Linked DNA regions of Homo sapiens: regions 1, 2, 3 and 5 are each linked to region 4. The links are contacts of gene promoters, found by promoter capture Hi-C in human tissues and cell types (Jung and others, 2019). All regions are on one chromosome and are shown on one strand. Each heading gives the region's core, a stretch centred on a gene start or on the middle of the fragment in contact. The rest is flanking DNA. Distances are from core to core; before and after follow the strand shown.

Region 1 (2,700 bases), core at 179-2,678, 290 kb before region 4:
AGGGTCTTCATCTCCACTCAGGCCTCTCAGCAAGCTCTGGAAAGACCTCTCGCAGCTCCGCTGGTGAGGCCTGTGAGCCAGGGCAGGGGCGGGGGTTGCTTTATGTTCCCCCGGTGACACACTTCCCGACCTACCTCAACTTTACAGAGGCACATGTTGACTCTATTCCAGGCCTTAACTATTTCTGTTCCTTTGAACATGTAAAACAAACAAAAACAACAATGAAACACAAAAACCAATAATAACAAATATAATAAAAACTCTGCAAATGCCCCTGAGGGTTTCCAGCCCCGCTCTCCACATCTCAGCCGACTTGGTGTTGAGATGCGTGCTTTCTGCCTCGGGTTGTATGATCTCTGAGGAGGAGATCATGGTGGCTGTGGGATTATATACACACGCTTTACCAAGATGTCTTCCTTTGCAGTGACAGGACTTAAGCTGACTCTAGGAATCAGAGAAGGTTCACTTTTGCCTTCAGGCCTAGGAGCAGCTCATCCTCAGTCCCCAGGCAGTGCCTCCCGGGGCTGCCTTCAGGGCCTCCTGACAAGGGCCTGGGTGCTTTACCCCCACCATAGACTCAAGCACTCAAGGAGAAAGTTTCCAGAAACTGAACAGGATGAAGTAATTATAGCCGAAAGTCACTGAACTTACTACGCTATGTGTTCTCTGTATGATCTCACTTGATCCTGATAACCTTATGATGTAGGTCCCATCATTCATAAATGAGGAAACTGAGGCTCAGTGAGGCTAAGCAGCTGGCCCATTTACATAGCTAGTGATTGGAGAAGCCAGAATTTGATTGTAGAAAAGACTCCAAAGCCTGTACTCTTAACCGTGACATGCATGGAAGCGCGCGCACACACACACACACACACACACACAATTGACATATATGTGCATTCTTTGGTCTCTACAGTGTAATCTTTTTTGTAATATTCACAAATCATACGTTGTTAGAAATGGAAGTCATTTTAGAGATTACCTATCTGACTCCTCCCCAACTTTTACTTCCATAGAAAAGGAAACTGGGGACCTACCTTAGAGAAATAGTTTTCAAACCTGAGCAAGCATCAGAATCACCCAAGGGACTGGCTAAAACACAGACCTCTGGCCCCATCTCCAGAGTTTCTAATTCTGTAGGTCGAGGTGGGGCCCAAAATATATATTTCTAACAAGTTCCCAGGTGCTGCTGCTGCTGGTTCTGGGCCCCCACTTGGAGAACCGCTGCAGTAGAGTAAATTGGACATGTGAAGGCCTGCAAGACCCACTGCAGTGTTGTTACTTGAACGTGCTTAGCAATGTTGATGAGGCCTGGACAAACATGTCCCCTGGTCACTCTTAGCAGACTCATTCGTCCTTTACTAACTCTCTTTGGGTCTCAGCAACAGAAACAGAATGTGGCAGGCAGAATTCTAAAAATGCTCCCCGCTAAAAAAAAAAAAATCCCACATCTTTATTCCTCAAAGCCTGAGAACATGTGGCATCGTTCCTATGATTGTGTTATGTTATACGGCACAGTGGACCCACAAAAAGGGAGTATCTGGGTGGGTGTAATTTAATCACATGGCTCCTTAAAACCGGATAACTTTCCATGGCTGTTGTGGCAGAAGAGTAGGGCAGAAAGGGGGAAATCAGAGAGACTTGAAGCTCAAGAGCTTGGCTAGTCTTGCAGCACTATTGCTGTTTTGAAGATGGAGCGGCCCAAGTGAGAAGGAATGTGGGGGGCTTCTAGGAGCAGAAAGGAATTTCTGGCAGGGAATTGGAACCTCAGTCTTATGTTGCTTAGGACCAAATTCGGCCAACAGCCTGAATGAGCTTGGGAACAGATTATTTCCTGAGCCTCCAGATAATACAGAGGGATGCCTGACCTACAGAACCGTGAACGAATAAATGAATGTAGTTTTAAGCCTCTAAGTGTGTGGTTATTCTGAAGTGGAAACTAACATACAAGTACATAAATTCCTGAGCTCAGAAGCAAGCCCACTGCAGACCTACTCCATCCAGAAGCTTCTCACACCAAGAGCTGGGCCTCTGGGAGGCTCACCTTATCATTTGCTGGAAATGGCAGTGGCTGTGACTTAAATTCCAGCCCCATCAAGGTAGTTTTCAGTTCAGTTGGTGTCTGAGTGCATTTTCTGCTGCTATAAAGGAATACATGAGGCTGAGTCATTTATAAAGAGAAGTTTATTTGGCTTATAATTTTGATGACTGGGCATCTGCCTCTGGTGAGGGCCTCAGGCTGCTCTCACTCATGATGGAAGACGGGGAGCTCATGTGTGCAGAGATCACATGGCAGGAGGGGAAGCAAGAAAAACAGTGGGGAGGCACCAGGCTCTTTTAACAACCAGCTTTACAGGGAACTAATAGGGTGAGAAGTCACCCCCAAAAAAGGGCATTATTCTATTCATCAGGGATCCCCTCATGACCCAAACACTTCCCATCAGGCCAATTTCCAACAGTAGGGATCAAAGCTCAACATGAGTTTTGGAGGAGACAAACATTCAAATCATCGCAGCTGGGGAAAAAAATCTAAAGATTATCAGGACACCCAGGAAACTGCCTACCCAACCAACCTCAGCAGACACCAGCCTCGCTCGAGAACACAGGCAGATCACTTGCCTGCCAGTGCCTGCCCTTCATGGATGAGCAATTTTAAAAACACTTTAGGAAAACAGATTGTCCTCCTGCACTACCACTAAA
Region 2 (2,700 bases), core at 38-2,537, 260 kb before region 4:
AGCAGGATTAGACCCTTGCCTCTCCTTCATTCCTCAGAAGGATGCAGAAAGTGTAAGGGATTCCTTAAAGGATCACAGTTCAGTCCCTACACTTTCCCAAACCCCAATCCCGACCCAAGGGAAAACAACGTAAAAGGCAGAGAGGTATGTATTTAGTCTGTGATCTGTTCCATTAGCAAGTTCAGGTCACTGGGGATTGCATCAGGCCAGCTGGGGTGGGCGGGGCTCATCTGAAGGGCTATGCAGACTATCTACCACACATCCTCAGTGGGCACCATTCACAGCATAGTCTAATTTACTGGTTCTCAAACATGGTGGGTGCATATTAGAATTACTTGGGCATTTAAAAAAATCCCAAGCCAGGATGCAACTCAGAACAATTACATCAGACAACCTGGAGGAGGGACTAAGACATCAATAATGTTTAAATTTCCTCCAAATGTTTCCAACATGCAGCTGAGTTTAAGGCCCAGTGGTCTCATTCATGTAGACTTTGATGTGAATGGCACTCCCTGTAGCTGTGCTGAGTATGACCTGCAAAGACATATTTCATAGTCCTAGGTGGAGGTGGAGATGCAAAGAGTTAGCAGAGGACAATAGGGAGATGGGGATGCCTTCTAGGAAAAAAAAGACATGTCAAAAGGAAATCTAGAAAGTGGCCCTCACACCAGCCTCCTGTGACTAGGGTTGCCTGTAGACTGGGTAAAAAAAAAAATAAGACATTCTATTATTTGGGGCTCCTGAACAGTTTACATGATCCCAGATTTCTCTCCTGTTAATCTGCTCTAGTTCCTAATCTTCATTTCTTGGATATTGTCTTAGATATGTATTTTATGTAATTAAAATAGCAACCAACAAACACTCATGCATCACTTCAGAGTTTGCAAAGCCGTGTTTCAATGCCCATTATCCTCACCGGGATGACTCATAAAGTCTCTGCCCCCTGTCTGTGGAGTCCAAGTCCCTTTCTTTCTCAGATCCAGGTGCCATTAGAACTGGAGGATTGGTTTTTCACCAGCTTCTACACAGAGGTTTCCCACCTATGGTGTCTGCTGGGAATTTTTTTTCCTTTGCTGAATTTTTAATTACTGTGAAACAACTTGGAGCATGAGTTTATGGGCAAAATCAGCATTTCCAATGTGGCCTCATCCTTGCTCAAGGTAGGGCCCCAGGTCAAATGGCCGTCTGATCTCCACCAAAGGCCCAGTGTTAGGCACAAAGGAGGCACTTAGCAGCGCTTTGTGGAACAAATGCAGAGTGGATGCTGCGTTGGCAAACCATGCAGGCAGCCACCAGTCAGGAGAAAGGCTCTGGGTGCTGAGAGGGAGACTTACAGCCACAGAAAAGAACGGAATATTCCAAGCTTAAGTAGTTTTAAATTTGGTTGAGGATTCTGGTCTTAGCCCATCTTCAGCCTTGTCAAAGGCAATAGTCAAAGAGGGCTCCCGAAACTGTCCTGGTGAGCCAGAATGCAGGCTGAGTTCACAGTCTGGGTCCTCGGGTGGCCTAACACTCATGTGCAGTCACCAGGTCTCTGGTCCACAGGCAGTAGGAGCAGAGCAGCCAATTTCCTGTAGCCAAAAGACTTGGCCCCTGACTGGCTGAGTGGCTGTGAACACGTCCCTGAAAATTGTCATGCCTCTGTCTCTTTGATCCGACAAGTGGGGTTAATAGTCCCAGCCTCTTAATGTTGCTGTGAGACTCAGCTGCTGTTTAGCACGGCGCTCCATAAATGGTGGCAGTGGTATTATTGCAGGCTCCGGTCTATCTCCGATTTTACTGCCTTCACCAGTGAAAACCAGCAGGGCGAGCCTGGTCTCCTTCCTGTTCCCCACAGCCTGATCTGACAGGCTCTCTATCACCGGGCCATGATGTGTGCTTGTTTCATGGATCAGGAGATAACTAATACTTTTAGCAGGATATATTTGAACTGTAAGGTTCCAGTTCAGTCCTTTTCTTTAAGGACCTAGAATAGTGATTAAGAAAATAAGTTCCGGAGTCAAAATGGGCTCAAAGTTTTGCTCTACCACTGTGCTATATATAGCCTTGATGATAGGGTTTGGCTGCATCCCCACCCAAATCTTACCTTGAATTATAATCCCCATAATCCCCACGTGCTGTGGGAGGAACCTGGTGGGAGGTAATTGAATCATGGAGCCAGTTTCTCCCATGCTGTTCTAGAGCTAATGAGTGAGTTCTCATGAGATCTGATGGTTTTATAAGCGTCTGGCATTTCCCCTGCTGGCACTCATTCTCTCTCCTACTGCACTGTGAAAAGGCACCTTCTGCCATGATTGTAAGTTTCCTGAGGCCTCCCCAGCCATGTGGAACTGTGAGTCAATTAAACGTCTTTTCTTTATAAATTACTCAGTCTCAAGTATTTCTTCATAGCAGTAGGAGAATGGACTAATACACTTGGGCAAGGTTCTTGCCCTCGGTAAAGTGTCAATGTCCACATCTGTGAAATGAAATTGATGCTACTGTTTATGGCATAGGTTTATTGGGAGAATCAAAGGATATAATGCCTGGGACATAATTAGCACGTGATATGGGCAGTCCTGTTTATATCTCCCCTCCCTGTGATCTAGGACTAAAGACTCTCTTAGTAAATTCTCCCATGGTTTCCCATGGCAGTTCTGGCCAACTTCAGCTCTGTTCAACTCCAAGGATGCCGGGAAAGCCCTATTTTCCAGGAGTTTT
Region 3 (2,700 bases), core at 164-2,663, 390 kb before region 4:
ATACATGGCTACAACATTTTTCAGAAATCACCAAAGCCAAAAAGTAACTTCTGATTCAGAATGTTAAACGGTTTCACTGGCATTCTCTGTCTTATTAACCAGAAAGCGTTTATAAGATGAGTAATATTGAATTTTACCTATTTTTAAGTTGTGTCACAATTACAAATTCTATTATAATTTAATTATACTAAAAATTATACTAAAAACTTTTCTAAGGTGCTAATACCTTTTGCAGAATCATGCATTAAAAATAACAAGGGTTGTGGGAAAAACAGTTGAAGCAGCCCACTCAAAAGCTATGTAATTTTGTTAACAGAAGACTTAACAGAAACTTTAACATCAGTTTTATTAAAAATTCTAACAGAGTTTAAGAGACCTAGTAAATGAATAATAAATACCAAAATAAAAGTAAGGATTTTATCTTTAAAGAAATGTTGATTGTAGCTTAATGATAGGGGGTGTGAGGAAAATGAGGATAAATGCAGGGTGCTGAGTTGTGGAGATGAGAGCAAAATGCAGAAATATTGAAGAATAGCACAATAAACACTGAGGCAAAACAACCAACCAAACTGAGCCAAGTGAAGAATGTAGAGTGAATGGTTATCATGTACTGTGATACTCCTCCATAGTTTGTGGAAGTTACTCATATTGATGTACTTTGCATTCATCAGGTATTGCTTGGTGATGCAAAGAAAACATGAAGGTGCAGCAAAAATTGCTTATGCACCAACATGAGTTTTTCATTAATGATGCTATTCCCCTGTTTACCACTTGCTTGTGAAATGAGGCACATTACAAATCCAAAAGGTAGCAAAACAAACTATCTTATAAAGAGACTTGCTCCAGGTTGCTGTAAGATTCTTAATTTTTCAAAATATGACATCCTCAAGAGTTAATAACTACTTTTTGTCAATACAATAATCACTAATAATATTCTTAGAACTTGAAAAATGCATTCATGATTCATCAGTTAAAATTCTTAACTAGAATTTATGTATTTAAACATTTTTCTAATTTTTAAAGTTGCAACCCATAGTTTCTCTTTTCTAAACAGCAATTTTAATGAATATCATAGTTTAATTGACTTAAGTCATTTCTTACTAAAGATATTAGAAGGAACCAGGGTTTTGTAATTTCAGTTATTTTAATGTACACAATAGAAAACTTGTTAAAATATTGTTTGTATTTACATTATCAATTCCAAAATTTTTAATTGTTATAGTGTTGAGATATGTGTATAGAGTTTCTGTTTTTCATTAAAATATTTTATTTCTCAGATTATGAAGTTTTCATATTTTAATTTTTTAATTAGATGAGGAGTTAACAAAATCAAAGCCATCTGCTCCACCCAATGAGTAAGTTTCCATGTTTAATTTTGTTAAAAAATAGACTTTATTTTTTAGAGCAGTGTTTGATTTATGGCAAAATTGAATGGAAAGCACAGAGATTTCCCTTTATGCTCCCTGCCCCTTCATATGCCCAGTCTCTCTCACAGTCAAATTCTCTCACCAGAGTGGTACATTTGTTAGAATCAGTGAACCTGCATTGACACATCATAATCACCTAAAGTCCACAGTTTACATTAGGGTTCATTCTTGGTGTTGGACAAATGTGTAAGGACATGTATTCGTCATTATAGTATCATACAGAGTATTTTTGCTGCCCTGAAAATCTTCTGTGCTCCACCTTCTCATCCCTTCTTCCACACACTTACATTTTAAGTATCCTTTTGTCTTTTTTTCTAGAGTTTTATTAGCTCTATAGTTTTAATTCCAGTAAAGTTCTGTTAATCATCCTGTTTTCTGAGCTGTCAAATGCAATGTTGGAGTTTTTAGAAGTTTAAAATTATTTCTCGCTTGGTAATATGTCCTTTTACAATAAAAAAAATCTATTTAACCACAGTTGGCCTTGGTAGCCTCACTACTTCTAAATAAATGATGAAACCCTAAATTCATACATATCTGTATTTCAGCTGGTTATTCTCATGGGAATTTTCTCATTTCTTCCTTCAGTTTTGACTGTGACGTTATAAAATAATATACTTCGTAAGCTTCAAAAAAAGAAGTGTGTCAAGTTGGAAAGGGAGAGAGAGGCTAGAAGGCATGTTGCCAGCTCTTCTTAAAAAAAAAAATGTTAAGCCAATGTTTCATGGGTCTCTTTTTACTTCTGTGTCTATCAGTTAAGAATACTCTCTTTGAGTTAATGGTTTTTTGCTTGTCTGTTTTGAGACAGGGTCTTACTCTGTCTCTCAGGCTGGAGTGCAGTGGCGTGATCATGGCTCTCTGCAGCCTCAACGTCCCAGGCTCAAATGATCCTCCCGCCCCTGTCTCCCAGCTAATTTTTTTCAAAATTTTTTTTTTTTGGTAGATACTGGGTCTTGCTATATTTCCCAGGCTGGTCTCGAACTCCTGGACTCAGACTCCTGAGCCTCTCAAAGTACTGTGATTACAGGCATGAGCCATCAAGCCTGGCCAGAGTTAATGTAAAATACAAGTAAAAGTAGGCTTAGTTAAATAGGTAGTTTACAATTATTTGATACTTTTGAGGTACTAATTGAGCATAGTGGTGGTATTTATTGGATGTATCATTTTTTTAAAGATAAGTTGTTGAGTGTTTTAAAACTGTTTTTAGGAGTCATACAGTTGCAATGCTAGGCTTTATCATACGAGGTATAGTGTGCTTTCATGTAGGTGCATGTTG
Region 4 (2,783 bases), core at 119-2,618:
CGCGCCGTGCGGTGGCGGGGGCGGCGGGGGCGAGTGCGGGTGGAAGGCGGCGGCGGCGGCGGCGGCCGCTGCGGCGGCGAAGAGGGCCGAGGGCGGCGCGTAAGGCGGCAGCTGCAGGCCGTAGCCGCAGCCGTAGGGGCCGTAGCCGTAGGCATGCGGGGGCGGCGGGGGCGCGGGCGGGAAGAGCGCGGCGGCGGCTGCCGGGTCGCCCGCGCCCCCTGCGGCTCCCGCGCCGCGCAGCAGCAGAGACTCGGCGGCCGCGGCGTTGGGTGGGAGCAGCGGCTGCCGCTTGAAGCGCTTCCTCCGGCGCAGGAAGCTGCCGTTGTCGAACATGTCGGCGGACTCCGGGTCCAGCGTCCAGTAGTTGCCCTTGCCCGGGTTGCCGGGCTCGCGGGGGATCTTGACGAAGCAGTCGTTGAGCGAGAGGTTGTGGCGGATGCTGTTCTGCCAGGCGGGGAACTTCTCCCGGTAGTAGGGGAAGCGGCCGCTGATGAACTCACAGATCTCGCTCAGCGTCAGCCGCTTCTTGGGGCTCTGCAGGATGGCCATAGTGATGAGCGCGATATACGAGTAGGGCGGCTTCACCAGCGGGTTCTTGGCGCCGCTACCCGCGCTCCCGCCGCCGCCCGCGCCGCCGCCGCCGCCGCCCCCACCGGCTCCTGCCCCCGCCGCCGGGGCCGGGCCCGGGGGCGCCGGGGAGCCCCCAGCAGGCGGGGCCAGCAGGATGTCATCGTCGTCCTCCTCCTCCTCCAGATCCTCCAGCTCGTCCTCCCCGGCGTACGAGCGCCGCCGCCGCCGCCGCTGCGCGGGGACAGCCAGCCGGGGCCCGCCACCGCCGCCCTCGTCGTCGTCCTCCTCTTCCTCGTCTTCTTCGTCCTCGCCCTCCCCCACCACGTCGATGTCTGTTTCCTCGGCGAGGCCAGAGGCATCGGACATCTCAGTGCTCAGGGTCATAGCTGTGGCGCGGCGGCGGCGGGGCGGCGCATGGGGGCGCCGGGCTCCGGGCTCCCTCTGCGCCCCAGCCCGGGTCCCGGGCGGCAGGCCCGGCCGGGGGGCGCCACGCTGGGGGCGCTGCGACTGCGGCTGCCGGAGCTGCGCCGGGGCTGCCGGGTGGCGGCGGAGTCTCGCGCGCCGACTTTATAACTCCTGCGCCGCCGCGGTAGCCGCGCGGATGCTGCGCTCCCTGGGCTCCGCTCGCGCCCGGCCCGGGCGGAGGACTTGACCTTCTCCTCTCGGAGCAGCTTTTGCCCCGTCAGCTGAGGAGGGGGTGGCGGGGCCCGGGCGGGCGAATCAGAACGCCAGGCGCCCAGGAACGTGCGGGACGGGTGAGAGTCTAAGAACAGAGCTCGGCGAGGCCAGGGCTGAGTCCAGGAGAGGGCGGACCTTCCTCGGCTTATAGCAGAAGGGGGCCTGTCACATGGTGTGCACGTCAGAGCGCTGCCGAGGGAAGGAAAGCAAGCCTAGGAAATCAGCCCTTCTCGGGAGAGAAAATTCACCCGTAGGAGGGAGGCAGCAGCTGAGAAGAGTGGGGAGGAGAGGGGACCTCACTATTTCTTGCCAAAGAGGCTGATGCCCGAATTACGCGGCTGTCTGCACCGAGGGCCGCTGCACGAGTTAGACTTCCCAGCCTCCTCAATTAGTCCTCCACCCTAACCTCAGAAGCACACCCGCGACACTCTGGTTTGACCCCTCGACAGCCTGTAGGAGCCTTCCAGCCGGGGGATAACCACCCCATCCTCTGAGGTGGCCCCTGGGGGACGCTCTGGGGTCGGTTGGGGGTGTCCAGCCCCTCCAGATCGGGCGAGCGGCCCCCCATTGGATCTGATGCGAAGCCCCCCAATTTAAGCACGATAATAATTGTTTATTGACCCTTTAACCCATTCTCTTCGGTTTTACTCCAAAGACGTTTGTTTTCCGCCATCTGTTAATAAAAACGCTGTGAGACTGGCGTTTTACTCACTTCTCTGCGATTGAATGCCCTAGAGACTTGACAGTTAAACTAAGCCACTCTAATGAGACGATCTGACAAATGTCATGGGAATAAAGAACGTAATAATTGAATTCGGAGAAGAAATTGAAATTTTTAGTGAAAACCCAAATACACGCACAAAAATTGCACCTAGAAACTACTAAAAAGTTCGACCAGCCTGGCCAACATGGTGAAACCCCGTCTCTACTAAAAATAGAAAAAAATTAGTAGGCGGCGCCTGTAATCCCAGCTACTCGGGAGGCCGAGGCAGGAGAATCGCTTGGACCCGGGATGCGGAGGTTGCAGTGAGCCGAGATCGTGCCACTGCACTCCAGCCTGGGCAACAAGAGCGAAACTCCGCCTCAAAAAAAAAAAAAAAAAACAGAAGTTCGTTCATAATGGGGCTATATAGTTCTCAGTAGGAGGAACATTCTAGTCAGCACTTTGCATAGTAATCTCAAAATACTTAAATTACATAACATATACATATTTCTACTGAGGCTTATTAATAGAAACTATAATGATAGATGACTTTAAGATAAACTTTTTAAAAATGTGTTTTTGGAAAATCCTTAAATATTGTTAATCCTTTCTGGTGAGATGAAAATTTTTTTTATGAGATTAAAGTTCCGCTCAATTCAGTTTTCTTTTCGGGTGACAAGATAGTGGAAATAATTAAGATATGATGCTCTTTTAAATATACCTATCTTTATCACCAACTCAAACGAGCTATTTTGGCTAGTGGAAAAATCCTAATAGTTTGTTGAATTCACATTCACTTATTTGTGCATTTCCTAAAATGCTTCTATTTCAA
Region 5 (2,748 bases), core at 128-2,627, 440 kb before region 4:
GGGTTTTAGTCACTTTCGCTAGGGATAGGCAGCTCAATACAACTCAGTAACTCGGATATATCTTTATATTACAGCAAAATATCATGATGTGTTTTCTTGATGATATTTCTTGTTAGAAACCATAATAAAAGCAGGCACTATTTATTTTTAAATTTAACTGTATGCCAGACCCTATTCCAAGCATTTTGTATAACTACATTACTACTACAGCTTTTTTTAAAAAAAAGGTGATATTGTTCCCTTTTTAGTAATGAGAGAACTGTATAAATTTCTAAGACAAGGTCAGATGGGTAGTGCAGTGCTGAGATTTCACTTTCCTTGGTTTCAGTTACCTACTGTCCAGTACAGTAGAATATTTAGAGAGAGAGAGACCGTATTCACATATGATGTTATTACAGTATGTTGTTATAATTGTTATATTTTATTAGTTGTTAATCTCTTACTGTGCCTAATTTATAAATTAAACTTTATCATAGTTATGTATGTATAGGAAAAAACATAGTATATAATACAGAGTCTGTACCATCCATGGCTTCAGACATCTACTGGGATCTTAGAATGTATTCCCCATGGATAAAGGGGCAGTAGTGTAAACGGTAGAGCCAGAATTTCAGTTGAATTTCTTCTGGCTCCAAAATCAGCTTTGTTTATGTTTCATGGTAAAGTGGCATCCTATATTCTTTAAGAAGGCAGGAAAGTACATAACATATATACTTAATATAGTATAAACAATTACATTTTAGAGAGAGTACAAAGTTGCTTGTTTAGGGAGTAGGACTATATGTACCTCTTACCAAACCCAAACCTCAGGGTAAACCCAGTTTTCTCTTTGTAGTTTTTTGTTTTTAGATTCCTGATCATGGCTAAAGATAATTACATATTGGTACTGATCGGCTTTAAACAAATTAAGTATTTTACAGCTTTCCTTGGACTTCAGTGGCACTTAGCAACACTTTTATTCATCTAGTCATGAGCTCTTGCATCCTCCACAATTATGGTTTGAAACTTTTTTTGTTCTCCTTAAGCTCCCAACCTACCCTACTGTTTCTCACTCATACCAGACCCATCTGTTACCTCGTCAAGAAAATGGGGATTTTTATATCTTGAAATCCTATAGCTTGTCTTTCTTTGATCTCCTTTAAACTCTTTTTTAGTCCAACCACATCACTCCATCTTCCTGTATCCAAGTTGATCAGGCCTTTGAGAATATCAAGCTTCTTGATAGCTGTGTATCTGCTTCAACCTACAAACTACACATAATCTTTTCCTTTCTCAAATGCCTATCTTCTTATAATTTACCTTAACTTCTGTGGCTGTGTTACTTTATTGCAATTTCTGTTTATGTATAGGTTGTACAGTACTGCTTAATATGTTTTTTTAATTAAATAAGTAACTTATAAAACCAGAACTATACTATTATGGTAACAGTTTCGTTTTTTAAGTCTTGAAAAAATAGGCAAAGATTGAAAACAAGTTTCTGTATTTGCTGGAGCATAATGGAAGCTGAGAAACATCAAGGAAACCAGCCTTCACAACTTTCGAGATAGGTTTATAGTTTATAGATAGGTTTAATCAGACATTGAATGAAATATATGTATGCTGTGGTGGAGGAAAATTCACAGCTGCGAAAAGGAGTGTCAAGCACGTTCTGGTGGTATTGTGACATTTTTGTATATTGTCTGGAAGTTTCTCTCCAACAGTGTGTTAACATATCTTAGTAACACTGTAGCATTATAATGTAATTATGCAATCTTAGTCTGGGATTTAAAATGAGAGTATTTTAACTTTTCAAAGCACATTCCATCAAACAGAAAAGAGAATCAGTGTTTACTTCCTGACTTCTTGGCTGACTGTAACAACAACAATAAAAAAAGACTAAAGAGGGCCTCACAACAAGTATCAAAGTTAGTTATATGTCATATTGAACTCTTAAAATGTATTTTAATTTGTTATTCATATTAACTTACATTAGGAAAGAAAAAAGGTCAATGCACAGTTAAAAGTTTTTTATTTTATTTTATTACAGGCAGCTGTTAAATCTAAGAAAGCTACAGATACCTATAAACTCTATGTGGAAAAATATGCATTAGCAAAAGCTGATTTCGAACAGAAAATGACAGAAACAGCTCAGGTTGGTATTTTAAGGCTTCAGATTGAAAACAGGGCATTTATATTTGTGTATATTGATTAATTTTTCTCTCATATAATTTTTTAGTGTTGGAAGTTTTAAAATGCACAATCTCAATTTGTTAATGATGCTGTTTTAAAAATACATGTCGCGTTTTGGAGATTGAGGACCAAGATGCAATAATTATAATGTCATAAGGAATTATACAGGTAGATCAGAAGAGCCTGTTTAAAGGTAATTGGGGAAACTGAGGGCATTGGTACATGATGAAGACAGTGCTTAAGAAGCATTAATAAGAAAACTGGAAGTGACTTAGTAGTGAGGCTACGGCAGTCAATACAACCCAAAAAATCCCTGGTCTCAAAGAACTTACATATTAGTGAGGGAAGACAGACACAAATGTCTGCCATCCATTAGCTTGGGATAAATTATATTTGGTGTAGTGTTCTTAGAACCTTAATTAAAGGCCTCGTTTAAGGTGGCTGCCTTTTAGGAATCATACCTAACATTTCCACTCTCCGCTGCCCCTGCTTCTTGTCCTTTTCCTTGTTTTATTTTCCTGCTTAGCACCTATCGTGATCTTACATACCAAGAATTTTATTCCTGTATCATTCAGGTCA

Evidence for each region. Contacts are between HindIII fragments. The study calls those that stand out against the background at their distance.
Region 1: a contact is called between a fragment that was not itself captured here and the fragment with the promoter of FOXD1 in region 4, in 1 of the 25 tissues and cell types used here (IMR-90 fibroblasts).
Region 2: a fragment that was not itself captured here is called in contact with the fragment with the promoter of FOXD1 in region 4 in 1 of the 25 tissues and cell types used here (mesendoderm cells).
Region 3: a contact is called between a fragment that was not itself captured here and the fragment with the promoter of FOXD1 in region 4, in 2 of the 25 tissues and cell types used here (IMR-90 fibroblasts and hippocampus).
Region 5: a contact is called between a fragment that was not itself captured here and the fragment with the promoter of FOXD1 in region 4, in 1 of the 25 tissues and cell types used here (mesenchymal stem cells).

The regions. Positions count from the first base shown.
Region 1 is chr5:73,155,887-73,158,586 of GRCh38, forward strand. No RefSeq gene overlaps it. Among named protein-coding and RNA genes, the nearest start is that of TMEM174, 16 kb to the right of the region's middle. RefSeq lists an enhancer at 1-364. The HindIII fragment of the contact is 3,303 bases long and covers 1-2,700 here.
Region 2 is chr5:73,190,089-73,192,788 of GRCh38, forward strand. No RefSeq gene overlaps it. Among named protein-coding and RNA genes, the nearest start is that of TMEM174, 18 kb to the left of the region's middle. The HindIII fragment of the contact is 4,970 bases long and covers 1-2,700 here.
Region 3 is chr5:73,054,753-73,057,452 of GRCh38, forward strand. FCHO2 (FCH and mu domain containing endocytic adaptor 2) reads left to right here. Exons shown (of 26, transcript NM_138782.3): 16 at 1,313-1,355. Among named protein-coding and RNA genes, the nearest start is that of TMEM171, 64 kb to the right of the region's middle. The HindIII fragment of the contact is 6,677 bases long and covers 1-2,700 here.
Region 4 is chr5:73,447,409-73,450,191 of GRCh38, forward strand. FOXD1 (forkhead box D1) reads right to left here and starts at 1,369. Exons shown (of 1, transcript NM_004472.3): 1 at 1-1,369. The coding sequence starts at 954. The HindIII fragment of the contact is 13,220 bases long and covers 1-2,783 here.
Region 5 is chr5:73,004,419-73,007,166 of GRCh38, forward strand. It overlaps FCHO2 (FCH and mu domain containing endocytic adaptor 2), which reads left to right. Exons shown (of 26, transcript NM_138782.3): 6 at 2,027-2,131. Among named protein-coding and RNA genes, the nearest start is that of FCHO2, 50 kb to the left of the region's middle. The HindIII fragment of the contact is 3,172 bases long and covers 1-2,748 here.